2 separate regions of the Homo sapiens genome follow, and region 1 is linked to region 2. The links are contacts of gene promoters, found by promoter capture Hi-C in human tissues and cell types (Jung and others, 2019). All regions are on one chromosome and are shown on one strand. Each heading gives the region's core, a stretch centred on a gene start or on the middle of the fragment in contact. The rest is flanking DNA. Distances are from core to core; before and after follow the strand shown.

Region 1 (6,395 bases), core at 2,591-5,090, 260 kb before region 2:
GACGCTTGAACCCGGAGGAGCGGAGGTTGCACCACTGCACTCCAGCCTGAGCAACACAGCAAGACTCTGTCTCAAAAAAAAAAAAAAAAAAAAGAAAAGAAAAAGAAAAGAAAGGCAGAGGCTGGCTGTTTGGTCTGCGTGAGACCACTCTTTCATCTCCATTAACCTTCCAAACAAATCTCTTTGTTTAGTTAAAAAGTTTGCAAATTTAGAACACAGACCAAGACATTTTACAGAGCAGCACCTGAACAAACAAAAACACATTAGCTCCAAATGATTTCTTTATTTTGAGATGGAGTTTCGCTCTTGTTGCCCAGGCTGGAGTCCAATGGCGTGATCTCTGCTCACCGCAACCTCCGCCTCCTAGGTTCAAGCGATTCTCCTGCCTCAGCCTCCCTAGTAGCTGAGATTACAGGTACGTGCCACCACGCCTGGCTAATTTTGTATTTTTAGTAGAGACGGGGTTTCTCCATGTTGGTCAGGCTGGTCTTGAACTCCCAACCTCAGGTGATCCACCTGCCTCAGCCTCCCAAAGTGCTGGGATTACAGGTGTGAGCCACCATGCCCGGCCAATTAGGTCCAAGTGATTTCTTTGTAATTTTTAAATTCTTCATGGGAGACTCACAGTTCTTTTTTGTTTTTTATTATATTTTTTCACTTTTCTCTCTTTTTGAGTCAAGAACTCATTTTGTTGCCCAGGCTTCTGGGCTCAAGGAAGGACAAGGTTTATTAGCAGCATGAGAACTGACTAATACAATCACGGTGGAAGACCAGAGGGGTCTCCCTGGATCTCCTGGACACCAATGTGTGACTTTGGACAAGTAATCCCCACCAACTGTAAAGTGTGAACACTGATGCTGAAGTCAGCAGAAATTAAAGCCTATAAACTCCCTCTTTGAGAAAGGAAGCTAGCTGGCAGGGCACGGTGGCTCACGCCTGTAATCCCAACACTTTGGGAGGCCAAGGCGGGAGGATCACTTGAGGCCAGGAATTTGAGACCAGCCTGGCCAAAACGGTGAAACTCCATCTCTACCAAAAATACAAAAATTAGCTGGGCATGGTGGCGCCTGTCTGTAGTCTCAGCTACTCAGGAGACTAAGGTGGGAGGATCACTTGAACCCAGGAGGTGGAGGTTGCAGTGAGCTGAGATCACGCCACTGTACTCCAGCCTGGGCGACAGAGCGAAACTCCGTCTCGAAAAAAATTAAAATATTAAATAAAATATAAAAACAGACAGCAGGACAGGCACAGTGGCTCATGCCTGTAATCCCAACACTTTGGGAGGCCAATATGGAAGGACTGCTTGAGCCCAGGAGTTCGAGAACAGCCCAGGCAACATAGTGATACTTCAGTCTGTACAAAAATTTAAAAGTAAAAAATAATAGCTGGGCCAGGCACAGTAGCTCGTGCCTGTAATCCCAGCACTTTTGGAGGCTGAGGCAGGTAGATCACCTGAGTTCAGGAGTTCGAGACCAGCCTGGCCAACATGGTGAAACCCTGTCTCTACTAAAAATACAAAAATTAGCCAGGCATGGTAGCACACACCTGTAATCCCAGCTACTTGGGAGGCTGAGGCACGAGAACTGCTTGAACCTGGGGTCGGAGGTTGCAGTGAGCTGAGATCACGCCACTGCACTCCAGCCTGGGCAACAGGGTGAGACTCTTTCTCAAAAAAAAAATAAATAATAAATAATACCCGGGTATGGTGGTGTGCCACTCCCTGCAATCCCAGCTACTCGGGAGGCTGAGGAGGGAGGATCACTTAAGCCTAGGAGGTCGATGCTGCAGTGAGCTGATTGTGCCACTGCACTCCAGGCTGGGCAGCAGAGCAAGACCCTGTCTCTTAAATAAATAAAATAGTTAAAAAAGGAAAACAGACAGGAAAACTCCAAGTGCAGAGAAGCCTAGTGGTACTTGGTGGGGGAAACAAAAGTTGTTCCAGGTATAATAGTTCCTGAAGTCAACACTCTATCATGGCAAGACACCAGGCACTCAAATTCCAAGTCATGAACTTACCTTTTCCTTGTTTTGAGGATTACATTGTGTTGGGCGACAGCTCTTTTAGGCTTCTGGGAAGTAAGGTATACATTCTGGAGTAACTTCCAAAGAAAAAGGTGAAAGCATACGCGGAACTTTTGAGCCTTGAAAAAGTTCAGCGAGTCATTCTTGAAAAGTCCTTTTTTTAAACAAAGGGGGTTTCAGTCACCTCACATTTGCATAGCAGTTTCTCTCTTGTCAAAGCCTTTCACATTCACTTATTTTAATTCTTACAGCACTCAAGGAAGAGTGTGGAGTTGGGGGTCGGGGGTTGGGTGCAGAGCAGTGTTAACATCCTTCTGTAAGAGAAACGGAGGCTTTTGAGAGGCCAGGCGTGGCGGCTCATGCCTGTCATCCCGGCACCTTGGAAGGAGGATCCATTTGGGTCCAGGAGTTCCCGGCACTTTGGAAGGAGGATCATTTGGGTCCAGGAGTTCAAGACCAGCCTGGGCAACATGGGGGAAACCCTGTCTCTACAAAAAAAAAAAAAAAAAAAAAAAAAAAGCTGGGCGTGGTGGTGTGCCCTGGTAGTCCTAGCTACTCAGGGTGCTTGAGGCAGGAGGATTGCTTGAGCCCAGGAGGCGCAGGATGCAGTTAACCGTGATCGCGCCACTGCACTCCAGCCTGGGCGACAGAGCAAGACTCTGTCTTGGAAAACAAACAAACAACAAATACAATAAATTAAAAAAATTAGTTGGGTGTGGTGGCACACAGCTGTAGTCCCAGCTACTCAAGAGGCTGTGGCAGGAGGATCCCTTGAGACCAGGAGTTCAAGACCAGCCTGGGCAATGTTATGAGACACGCCACCCGCCCAGTCTTTACAGAGAATAAAAAAGTTATCTGGGTGTGATGGTGCACACCTATAGTCCCAACAATTCAGGAGGCTGAGATGGGAGGATCGCTTGAGACACGGGAGTTGGAGGCTGCCGTAAGCCGAGATCGGGCTAGTACACTGCAGCTGGGGCAACAGAGTGAGACCCTGCTTCAAAAAAATAAATAAATAGGGGCCGGGCGCGGTGGCTCACGCCTGTAATCCCAGCACTTTGGGAGGGCGAGACAGGCGGATCACTTGAGTGGTCAGGAGTTCTAGACCAGCCTGGCCAACAAAAATAAGCCAAACGTGGTGGTGTGTGCTTGTAATCTCAGCTACTCGGGAGGCCAAGGCATGAGAATCACTTGAATCCGGGAGGCGGAGGCTGCAGTGAGCCGAGATCGCGCCACTGGACTGCAACCTGGGGGACAGAGCAACACTCTGTCTCAATAATTAAATAAATAATTAAAAAAATAAAGAGGCTCCTGAGAGTCAACTTATTTGCCTGAGCCACTTATTTCACACATCCCAGGACGCCTGATGAAGGGTTCTGGATTTTATTGTCTCCTGTCATCCAGGCGGGCTTCCTGGAGGAAACCGGACCGCCAGGGAGGCCGCGGCCTCGGTCCCAGAGGTCGCGCGTCGCGGGGCCGGGGGAGGTGGGGGAGAGGAGGCCGCTCTGGGGCCGATCCCGCCCGCAGCTGGGGGCCCCCGTCACGTGACCAGCCGGGCGCCCAGGTCACGTGTCGGGGCGGGGAGGGGGGGGGCTGTCGGGGGCGACGGGCGTCCGGGCAGTGGCGCGCGCGGCACGCGAGCAGCGCACGAGGAGAGGTGGCGCGGGCCGGAGCCGCGGAGGGAGGCGGCGGCGGCGGCGGCGGCGGCGGCGGCGGCGGCGGCGGCGGCGGCGGCGGCGGCGGCGGCGGCGGCGGTGGAAGGGGCGGCCCCGCGGCCCCGCGTCCGCGTCACGTGGTGCGAGGCGGGCAGCCATCTTGCTACAAACACAAACACAGAGGAGCGGCCGCCGCGGGAGCGCCAGCGCCCCCTCCCCCGCTGCTAGCCGCCGTCGCCGTCCCCGGCCCCCGCCCGCCGCGCGCCGCCCACGCCCCGGGACCGGACCCTCGCGCCGCCCGCGGTAAGCGCCCAGTGGCCCCGCGGCCCCCGGCCCGCAGCCCAGCCCCGGGGCAGGCCCGCCCCCGACGCCGCGGCGGCCGCGCCGAGCCCGCGAGCTAGAGAAGCGCCGGAGCCAGCGCGCGGGCCGCCAGCGAGGACCCTCCCCCGTCTCCTCCCCGAGGCCGCCGCAGCCCGGTGCGTCCTCCCGCTCTCCCGCCCGCTCCGGCCCATCCCCGCCGCCGGGACCCTCCCCCAGAGCCGGCCAGCCTCGGGGAGGCCCCGGGAGGCCGGCGCCCGGCTTAGGGGGCGACCGCTCGCCCCCCTCGCACCTGGCGCCCCTCCCTGAAGGGCACGCCGTCCTCCCGGGCCGGCGCGCTGCCTTCCACCCCCGCGCTCCTAACGGTCGCCCCCGGGCCCCTGCCAAGCCCTGCCCTGGGCCGCCTGGGGGCCCCCGACCCTAGCGTCCTAGGGTGGCCGGGCCCCGCGCTTCCCGGAGTTCTCCCCAGCGCGCCTTTGGGTTCCCCTCGGAACGAGCTGGGCCTTGCGGTTCCCCAGGTCCAAGCGTTCCACGACTTTGGCCAACATGGAAGCCTTGCCCTCCACCCAGGCACCTCGCCTGGGTCCTCCTCACCTCTGTTTCCTTTCGCTCCGGCGATCTTAGTGCTGGGTCATTGGGGTCTCCTTCTTCCCAGTTGCTCGGCCGCGGGAAATACCTTCCTTAGCAGAGACTGCTTGTCCTCCCCGTCCCAGGCCAGGCCCTTCTCAGCTCATGCCCCTCCGTGCAGCAGCTCCCTGGCCACAGCTCTCACACTTTGCCTTAAAAAAAAAAAAAAACAAAAAAATTTCCGAGTAACTTTTTAAAAGCCCCTCGTCTCTCTTCTCTGTTATACAGTCATTACTCGCATTCCCGGTCAGACTCCAGGTCTGTTGCATCCTAGTGCTAGGAACTAGGAGATGCTACATAAAGACTTGTTAGCTGGATTGGATTTTTTTTTTCCAGCCACCCAAGCCTTACTTCCCTCCTGCCTCTCAAAGTGTCGTTCTGGAAGATCGTCAGCTTTCCCACCCTCTTGTGCACTGCCTCTTCGAGTCTATATAGAAGTTTCAATTTAGAACCCCGCCAACCCCTCGCCTTTGGCATGGAAACACCATCGGTGGTACCAGTAAGGGTCTCTCCTTTGCTGCCGACATGGGGGATTTGGGGTTCTTTCTCCTTCCCATCTTTCCTGTGCCCTTTGCAGACCTAGGCTAGCCACCCTCCACCAGGCTAGCCAGCTCCAATCTGATTTTCTTAGATTGTAGGTCTTGGTCCCCCAGCGGTCTGTCGTGCCATTGGGAAGGATTTGAGGGTAGACCTGGCCTTGGTGTCCCTGCCATTGCCTGGGGACCAGGGGCCCTGAGGGTCCCACGTGGTGGTTAGTCAAGTGGACCATGTGCTTAAACTTCTGGACTAGCTTTTTCTGCTGTTGGACACATCAGTCTTGTGTTCGTGATCTGATGCGTTAGCCCTAACTTTTACATCTGCTATTGGAATTTGGGAATTAAAGAAAAATAGCCCACTTTAGAGGAGAGAAGATGAGAGGAGGAGGCTAGATGAAGGATGTTGAAAGTCTAACAAATGTAAAATGGCTTCAAACTCACAGAATAATGCTTGCGAGTTTGGGATGGTTACTGCTACCGTGCGCACCTCCAGTCTTGCATAGTGTCAAGGATGTCGGGGCACGCTGTCGGAGCAGCTTCCTCCTTCTTTTCCCTGGCTGGAGCCCAAGGCTGGGCAAGTGGGCAAAAGGGATCACAGGAGGTAAAGAGTGAAAATCCTTTGAAAACTGTTAACTTGTAGACAATTGCCAAGCGGTGGTGTGATTTGCTGGGATGGCTCAGAGAGGAGAGAGCTGGGATAACCGACCAGCCGCGAAGAATGCGGGTTTGCATCTCTTTTTTAAGCCTCAGCGTCCTCACCCTACCACGCTTGGAGAATCTCCATCCTGAGAAAGGGCCAGGTCCCCTCCAGCAGGCCTGGGGCTGGGCGGTTGTTCCAGTGTTGAGGAATTGGGGACTGTGCTTCTGTTTAAGTGGCTCTGTTCTGTGCCAAGGCACAGTGCTCTGTGTTGGAGCTAATTTTAGGGGTGATGGAGTGAGGAGATAATGTTCTTAGCTGAATGTGCACTGGGACCGCCTGTTCTCTGTCTTTTCTTTCTCTCTTGAGTTCTGAGCCCCAGAGAGCAGGCTCCCTTTCCCGCGCGCCCTGGCGCCTACTGGAGCACCCGGGCCCAGCGTGTCCTCGCCCCTTGTCTCCGGCAGGGGGCAGTCTTTCAAAAGCATTGATTCAGATGCTGGGGGAGTGAGGGTAGACAGGCCCGAGAAAGAGAAGGGGTGGGGAAGGGGCGAGGAGCCGAAGTAGGCCGAGGCTTGAGGGCAGGGCCAGGGCGGGGGACAG
Region 2 (6,872 bases), core at 2,329-4,828:
GTCACTGCCCTGCCCTCTGCTCCCAGGTCCGCTTCCGCCTGACGCCGCCCTCCCCGGTGCGGTCCGAGCCGCAGCCTGCGGTGCCGCAGGAGCTGGAGATGCCCGTGCTGAAGAGCAGCCTGGCCTTGGGCCTGGAGCTGCGGGCCGCAGCCGGGAGCCACTTTGATGCTGCGAAGGCCGTGGAGGAACAGCTGAGAAAGTCGTTCCAGATCCGCTGCGGCCTGGAGGAGAGCGTGTCCGAGGGTGAGGGGGGCGGGCGGCCGGCCGCGTGCGGGAGTCGGGGTGAGGCGCGCCACTCACCTCCGTCCCCGCTGCGCTCTCAGGGCTGAACGTGCCGCGCTCCAAGCGGCTCTTCCGGGACCTGGTGAGCCTGCAGGTGCCGGAGGAACAGGTTCTGAATGCCGCGCTCAGGGAGAAATTGGCTCTCCTGCCGCCACAGGCTCGAGCCCCGCACCCAAAGGTGATGGGGTCTGGGCGTGGGGCTTCCTCCATGTACCCCCTTACCCGGATCCTTCCTCCCAAAGTGTAACCTTGCTTTGGGCCCAACCTCCCAACAGGAGCCACCTGGGCCTGGGCCAGACATGACCATCTTGTGTGACCCAGAAACGCTATTTTATGAATCTCCACACCTGACCCTGGACGGTCTGCCCCCTCTCCGACTTCAACTCCGGCCCCGCCCTTCAGAGGACACCTTCCTCATGCACCGGACACTGAGGCGATGGGAAGCGTAGACCCCAAAGATCCCTGGAGGGCTAGTTCGTATTTTTGTGTTAAACTATTTGTTAGAATAAAGTAATTTTGCTAATAAATGGGACTCTTCTTGGAGGCCTAAAATGGGGTTAAAAGCTCTCTAGGGGGTTATCCACTTAGCCTCAGGTTGGAAGCTGCCTGGAAGTCGGGTTTGGGGGCCTTTTTGGAACTTGGTAGAGTCATGGCAAGTGGAAAACACTGTCCACGTTAGAGGTTTACTTAGATACCCCTCCGTTCACAACCTTACCTGCCTCTCCCTGACTTCAGCCACAGCTACTGCCTGTTTTTGATCAGGTAGCGATTGTTCTCTGCATCACTTATTCTGATCTCTCAAAATGCAGAGCCCAGCCTATCACACTTCACGAAAACCTTCCATGATTACCTGTCTCAAGGAGCTTGCAAGCCAGCTGTCTGCACTGAGTTACTGAAATTATCTCCTTGCTTTTTACCTTTAAGAGCCTTGCCCATCCTGTTTACACCTGACCTGAATACTCAGTATGTTCGAAGTTCCAGTAACACCTAACAAGCCCCCGAAGAGCTTCATGTTGTTAATTGCCTGTAAGTCTGATTCCACAGCACAAAAAAGGTGCTGGCCCGTCCCTGGGCATTTGATCCAAAGCACTTTTGCCTACCTCCACCGTCAACTCTTTCCAAGTTAGCCTTCTGGCCAGGTGCAGTGGCTCGCGCCTGTAATCCCAGCACTTTAGAAGGCCGAGGCGGGTGGATCACCTGAGGTCAGGAGTTTGAAACCAGCCTGGCCAACATGGCGAAACCCCCGTGTCTACTAAAAATACAAAAAATTAGCTGGGCATGGTGGCGCGTGCCTGTAATCCCAGCTACTTGGGAGGGTGAGGCAGGAGAATCACTTGAACCTGGGAGGCGGATATTGCGGTAAGCCGAGATCACACCACTGTACTCCAGCCTGACGACAGAACAAATCTCCATCTCAGAAAAACAAAAACCAAAAAGTTAGCCTTCTGCCCAAAACGTCTACGGGGTTTTTCTGGGGAGGGAAGGCAGACTCCAAGTTCCACACCAAAATTTGCATTACACACCTTTTCCTGACTAGGCTTCTGTGTACTTGCGTGTGGACTTGACTAGTGTTCAACAATCAGCTCAACCACTGAAAAACGTGTCTTCCTTGAGATGGAAGATAAACAGCACAGGTTCTGGTGGGAGGCACCACCCATCCCCCACCAGCTAGACAGTACCGAGACAGGTGTGGGGGCCACTGCCCTAGACATCAAGTTTATTGTGCTGTTCTCACATTGAAAACCCAACCCCCTCTCCCACTGGGGGAGGGCAAAGGGAAGGATTTTCACAGTACCTGCGTGCCTCCCTGCCAGTCTTCCCCGTCTAACCCTCAGTCCCTCTATCCATGGTCCACTGAAATGCAGCTAGGGACAAGAGCTAGGTACAATGGCCGAGGAGAAATGGGAATCTCTCTCCTTGGGAGAATAGGAGGAAAGGGCTAGAGAATTTGATATCCTCCCACCTCCCATGCCCTAAGAGAACAGAGGTCAGCAAACAGTCCATGCCATCCAGCCTGGGAGGCTGGGGGAGAGGAAGATGATGGTGACTCCAGCACAGCCAGCCTTGCTGCGCAGGTGCCAGAGGCATAGGGAGGAGGCTGAGGCAGCGACGGAAGAAAAGCTTTCTTTGCAGATCCAAGAAAGGAAACTATTTTTGGAGTCAGAAAGGAAAGACCTTGGGACACTTTCCTCTTCCCCCAGGTCCTTATGAGCAGCGAGGGCAGCCTCTTCACACTTTCTGTTTAGGGGGCCACTTAGTGGCTGGGGGATCGGGCCTTGTGGAACAGGTACACAGGACGCTGGAAGCCTGAGGGGAGAGAGAGTGATCAGAAGGGGTTGGCAGCACCTCAAGAATCCCCATGGGGGTCTGCACTCTTTCAGCCAGGACCAGCCTCCCTGACAAAATAAACCAGCCTTACCTTTAGAGGTGTTGTGGGGTGTGGCCACAAGCTCATAGCTGGAGAAGCCCACGTCTGGGGATGTCAGGTAGGAACTGAACTGCTCTGGCTTCAATTGGATTCGGTAGTAGTTCTTGTAGATCGTTTCCTAAGGAGAGAGGCAAGGGACCACTTCAGCACGCTGCCGCCTCCCCTGGCCAAGGGCGATGCCCACCTCGGGGCCTTTTCTTGCCTCAACCAAAGGAATGACTATTCCCCCAACACCCAACTCACTGTAAGAGTCTTTCTCTTGCCATACGACGACCAGGGTTGGGGCTCTAGGACCAGGATGCCCCCAGGGCGTAGGTGCCGGTAGATCCGGCGAAACATGCGCTTCAGGCCCTCGTCTCCCCAGTTCAGATGCACCCACTTGGTGAGGCTGAGGCAGAGCACCACATCATACTCAGGTGTTTGGGCCTCCACCAGGTCATCTCGATCCAGCACATAATTACCCTGAGGGCAAGAATCGGCAGTGAGGTCAACTGAGGGAATCAAAGAACCCCTGCTCCCAGGCAACCTGCTCTGAGGCCGATACAGTCCCGCGGCCTCACTTTAGCCCGTGGCCACTTTCTTCTCAGACTAACTCCCAAAAGGTGCCTGCCCTCTTTGAGTTTTGTTTTCTCCTCTACACCTTCCTGCCTCTGCTTCTTCCTACTGGTGGTAAGCCAAAAAAGGTCGACGGAGCCTGAGTAATTTTAAATGGTGCAAATTATCCATGAAGTCTTCCAAAGCTAGGGTCCCAGGACCATATCCTGTGTTTATTCTCACTCACAGACATTAAGTGGAGTGACTGCAGGTTCTGCAAGGGTAACTAACCCAGGTTTCAAAGGCAGACCTGTGGTTCCTTCCCTGCAGTTGGGGCTGGCAAAGTTTCAGGCCTATTCTTTCCTTTCTCTGAGAGAAATGAAGAGCCACATCCTTTAGGAAGCCTTTTCTAGAAGCTCAGCTCATCACAACCCTCTAAAAAGACCATTCTTCAGGCTTAACCCAACACAATGCCAAAGATCCCAGTAGGCAGCCTAACTGGAGTGTTCTCTGGGGAGCTGTGTGCAGTCAGGGGACTCTGCAGGGCACAGGACTCTCTCCTCTCTGCAGAGGAGTTTCTGGTTCTTCCCTCTCCCACTATCTAGGGTCAATGTGGAGAGGATCTACAGCCAAACCACTTGGGTTCCTGACACGCTTCAACAAACTGTCTAGGAAAACAAAAGCCGCTGATAGGAGCAAGGTGGCTATCAAAGGGCAGAAACGCCAGTATTAGTCTGTCGCTACCCTAATCTCCTCCCTAGAAGACATTCCATGTCTGACTCCCATTCTCAGGCTCCTTCAGTAAATCTGAGGACCAAGTTCCACCTGGATCAAATTCCCTAGTGAGCAGCAGCCTTCAAGGGAAGGGAAGGTGGACCAGTGTGGATTATAGGCCAAGCCGGGAGCAGAGCAAAAAGAGAGTCCTCCTCTATCTTGGAGATCCTTGCAGTCATGACAAAGGACTCCAGGGTCAATGCCCCAAGGTAGACACCCCACCTTTCCAGGTTATAAGAGGGGAGAGACGCCCAGCAGAGGCTCTCACTTGCCAACCCAGACCCCTCTTTTGAGGATCTGGGTCATAACCTTCCCTGCTACATTCCCATTTAATCTCATCTTCACACCTGGCCCCTATTCCAAGAGCCTCTGGACCCTCTTACCGTGACGAAGACAACATTGTTGGGGAAGACTGATGTGTCCGCTCCATCCAAGGGCACTTGGGGGGCAGCGATGGGACCCCGGCTGGCAGTCAGCGAGGCTGGGAAGCAGCTCCTCTTTCGAACGGTGGTGGTCCCTTCCTCACCCTCTGCCCCCGGGTCCCCTTCCAAAGTCTGGGGTGGGAGACGCAGCTCCTCGGAAAGGTAGTGTCGGATGTTTTGGCGGGCAGAATGGATGAGCCGGGAATCGATATCCAGGCCCACCATGCGGGACGGGCCCCACTTGCAGGCAATGCTCAGGGTCAGATGGCCCACATTGCAGCCCAGATCTAGGACGTCCCGGCCCCGAAACCACTCAGGCTTCAACACCCGAAGGCGCCCATCCTCACAGGAAGGATTGCGGTACCCATAGTATTTGCAATAATTCCCATACTGGAACTTGCGCTGTTGCTTTTTGAAGCCTGCTGCAGGCAGTGGGTGGTGGTGGTGGTGGCGGCCTCCCCAACTCCCTCGGCCCTTTTCCTTGGAACCCTGGCCTCCACCCCTAGCCCCTGCCTCCGACTTGCTGGAAGTCCTGCGACGTTTGCGATGTCGGGAGGAGGAAGATGGGGGTGCAGAGATAACTGAGGCAGCTGGAGGGGCTGATAGGGAGCCTGAGGGACCCTGCAGAGCAGATGGAAGGGGAGACACCACTTCATCCCTGCAGTTGATGGCTGTGTTGAGTTCATAGGGTTGGGGGGCATCCCGGTTCTGGCCCCTGTGCCGCGGCTGCTGTGAGGCGCCCTCCCCGTGGAGTAAGGGGGTGAGAGGGGCTGTGGGCGGCACGGGGTGACTCTCACTCCCTCCGGCTGCCTGCTGCTGCTGGTGGTGCTGTCCCCGGTGTCTATGCCGCTTCCGACCAGTCTTGAGTGGCGAAGCAAGAACTACATGGCCCTCATCAGTGCAAGTATTGAGACTGAGCGGGTCAGTAATATCTTTGGGGATGAGGATCTCCACCGGATCTCGCCCTTTGGCCGGAAGGGGGGATGACTTAGGGGTCTCCGCGTTGAGAGTGCGGCTCACTTCCTCATCCAGGAGGCTATTCAGGTTCAGGGGATCAAAGATATTGCCCCCCAGGAGGAAGTTGGAGGGTAACACAGAGTCACAGTCCGAATTCACCCGCCTGCGCCTCTTGAAGGCCGGATGTTTGAAGCCTCCCCCGCCTCCCCCTACATTACAGCTATTTCTCCTCTTGCCCCCGCCCCCCCCAGGTGGCCGGTGGGGCTGATAGCCATTGCGGGGTCGAGGAGGAGCAGGGGGACCCAGCTCTGTCCCGCCCCCTCCCCGGCGCTCCTCCCCCACGTCCGGGGGAGCGGCTCGCCCCGGGGGATCCGACAGGCGGGCCTCCCCATGCGACTGCGCCTGGGGGCCGCCCCCTCGGTGCTGCTGCGCCTGGGGACCACTGGAGGAGGTGGCCGCGGCCCCGGGGCTTTCCCGACCGACCGCAGCGGCTGGGGACCCCGCAGATGGCGCGCAACGACCCGGACCACGCTCCGTCCCGCCGCGGAGCTCCCCAGAGGCGGCCTCTTGGTGCGGTGGCACCGTGGGGCCGCCCCCTCCGCCCGACTCATCTTTGAGCGGCGGCGGCGGGGCCGGCACCAGAAACGGCTCCTTCTCCGCCGCCATCTCGATCATTTCCTCCCCTTATTCCGTGCCAGTCGGGGTAACGAGGGGGATCAGGGGGCCTAACCCCCCCTGCCTGGACCCTGCTCCCTTCCCCCCTTTCCCGAGTGCGCGCGCAGCTCTGCTCTTCACGCCTAGTCTCGCGCCCAAGCGCCTCCCCGCCAAGTGCGCCCTACTAGCCCGCGAGACCAAAACAAGAGGCCCGCGAGACCCGAACTACTCGAGGACTCAACCGCGCGTGCGCCGACCCCTTTCTCCTCCGCCACTACCACCCGGCCGCGAGCGCGCACGGTGAGCGCGCGTTCCCTTCGCCCGGGAACCACGCATGCGCACTCCGCCACCACCCTGGTTGCGCGCGCATCAGACTACGAACCAACTTAACGGCTCTGGGAGTTTAAATATAACCCCCCCACAGCCCCCGCAAAAGCCCACCACCCCAAACTGACACCCTACTTCCCTGCGCAGCTATGTCCGGCCCTACTGATCTCCTTTGTCTCTGCCGCGCGATCCCACCCACCGTAGGCGGGGGACGGGAGCTGGTGTGAAAAGGTCTCCTTGACACCCGACCCTTGTTCCTGAGGAATGAGTCTCAGCGGTCTCCGCCCGGCTCTAAATCCAACAACCTCCCCACCCCGCCTCCTTCCTCCCCCCTAGTGGGCAGCGCCTGCGCACACCCTTTTGGGCTTGCGCGGGTAGAGGCAGCACGTGCTGAAACTGGCGCCCCGCCCCCCGTCTTAGGGGTTGGGCCTGTGACGTCGCTTCCTTAAGTTTGGTAAACGCAGCGTGCGTCAGCGCGATCCGGAGGGGCGGGG

Evidence for each region. The method cuts DNA at HindIII sites, captures the fragments that hold promoters and counts their contacts. A contact is called where the count stands out against the background at its distance.
Region 1: a contact is called between the fragment with the promoter of GIGYF1 here and a fragment that was not itself captured in region 2, in 3 of the 25 tissues and cell types used here (adrenal gland, dorsolateral prefrontal cortex and hippocampus).

The regions. Positions count from the first base shown.
Region 1 is chr7:100,691,695-100,698,089 of GRCh38, reverse strand. GIGYF1 (GRB10 interacting GYF protein 1) reads left to right here and starts at 3,840. Exons shown (of 27, transcript NM_001375765.1): 1 at 3,840-3,980. RefSeq lists an enhancer at 1,931-2,734, silencers at 3,422-3,581, 4,022-4,121, 4,292-4,411, 6,174-6,343 and a cis regulatory region at 3,273-4,766. The HindIII fragment of the contact is 16,890 bases long and covers 1,047-6,395 here.
Region 2 is chr7:100,429,219-100,436,090 of GRCh38, reverse strand. MEPCE (methylphosphate capping enzyme) reads right to left here and starts at 6,260. Exons shown (of 4, transcript NM_019606.6): 1 at 4,402-6,260; 2 at 2,954-3,172; 3 at 2,702-2,828; 4 at 1,973-2,589. The coding sequence starts at 6,072. The coding sequence ends at 2,537. PPP1R35 (protein phosphatase 1 regulatory subunit 35) reads left to right here. Exons shown (of 4, transcript NM_145030.4): 2 at 27-243; 3 at 324-460; 4 at 558-809. The coding sequence ends at 731. RefSeq lists silencers at 1-274, 5,571-6,040 and enhancers at 5,361-5,440, 6,311-6,450. The HindIII fragment of the contact is 6,950 bases long and covers 104-6,872 here.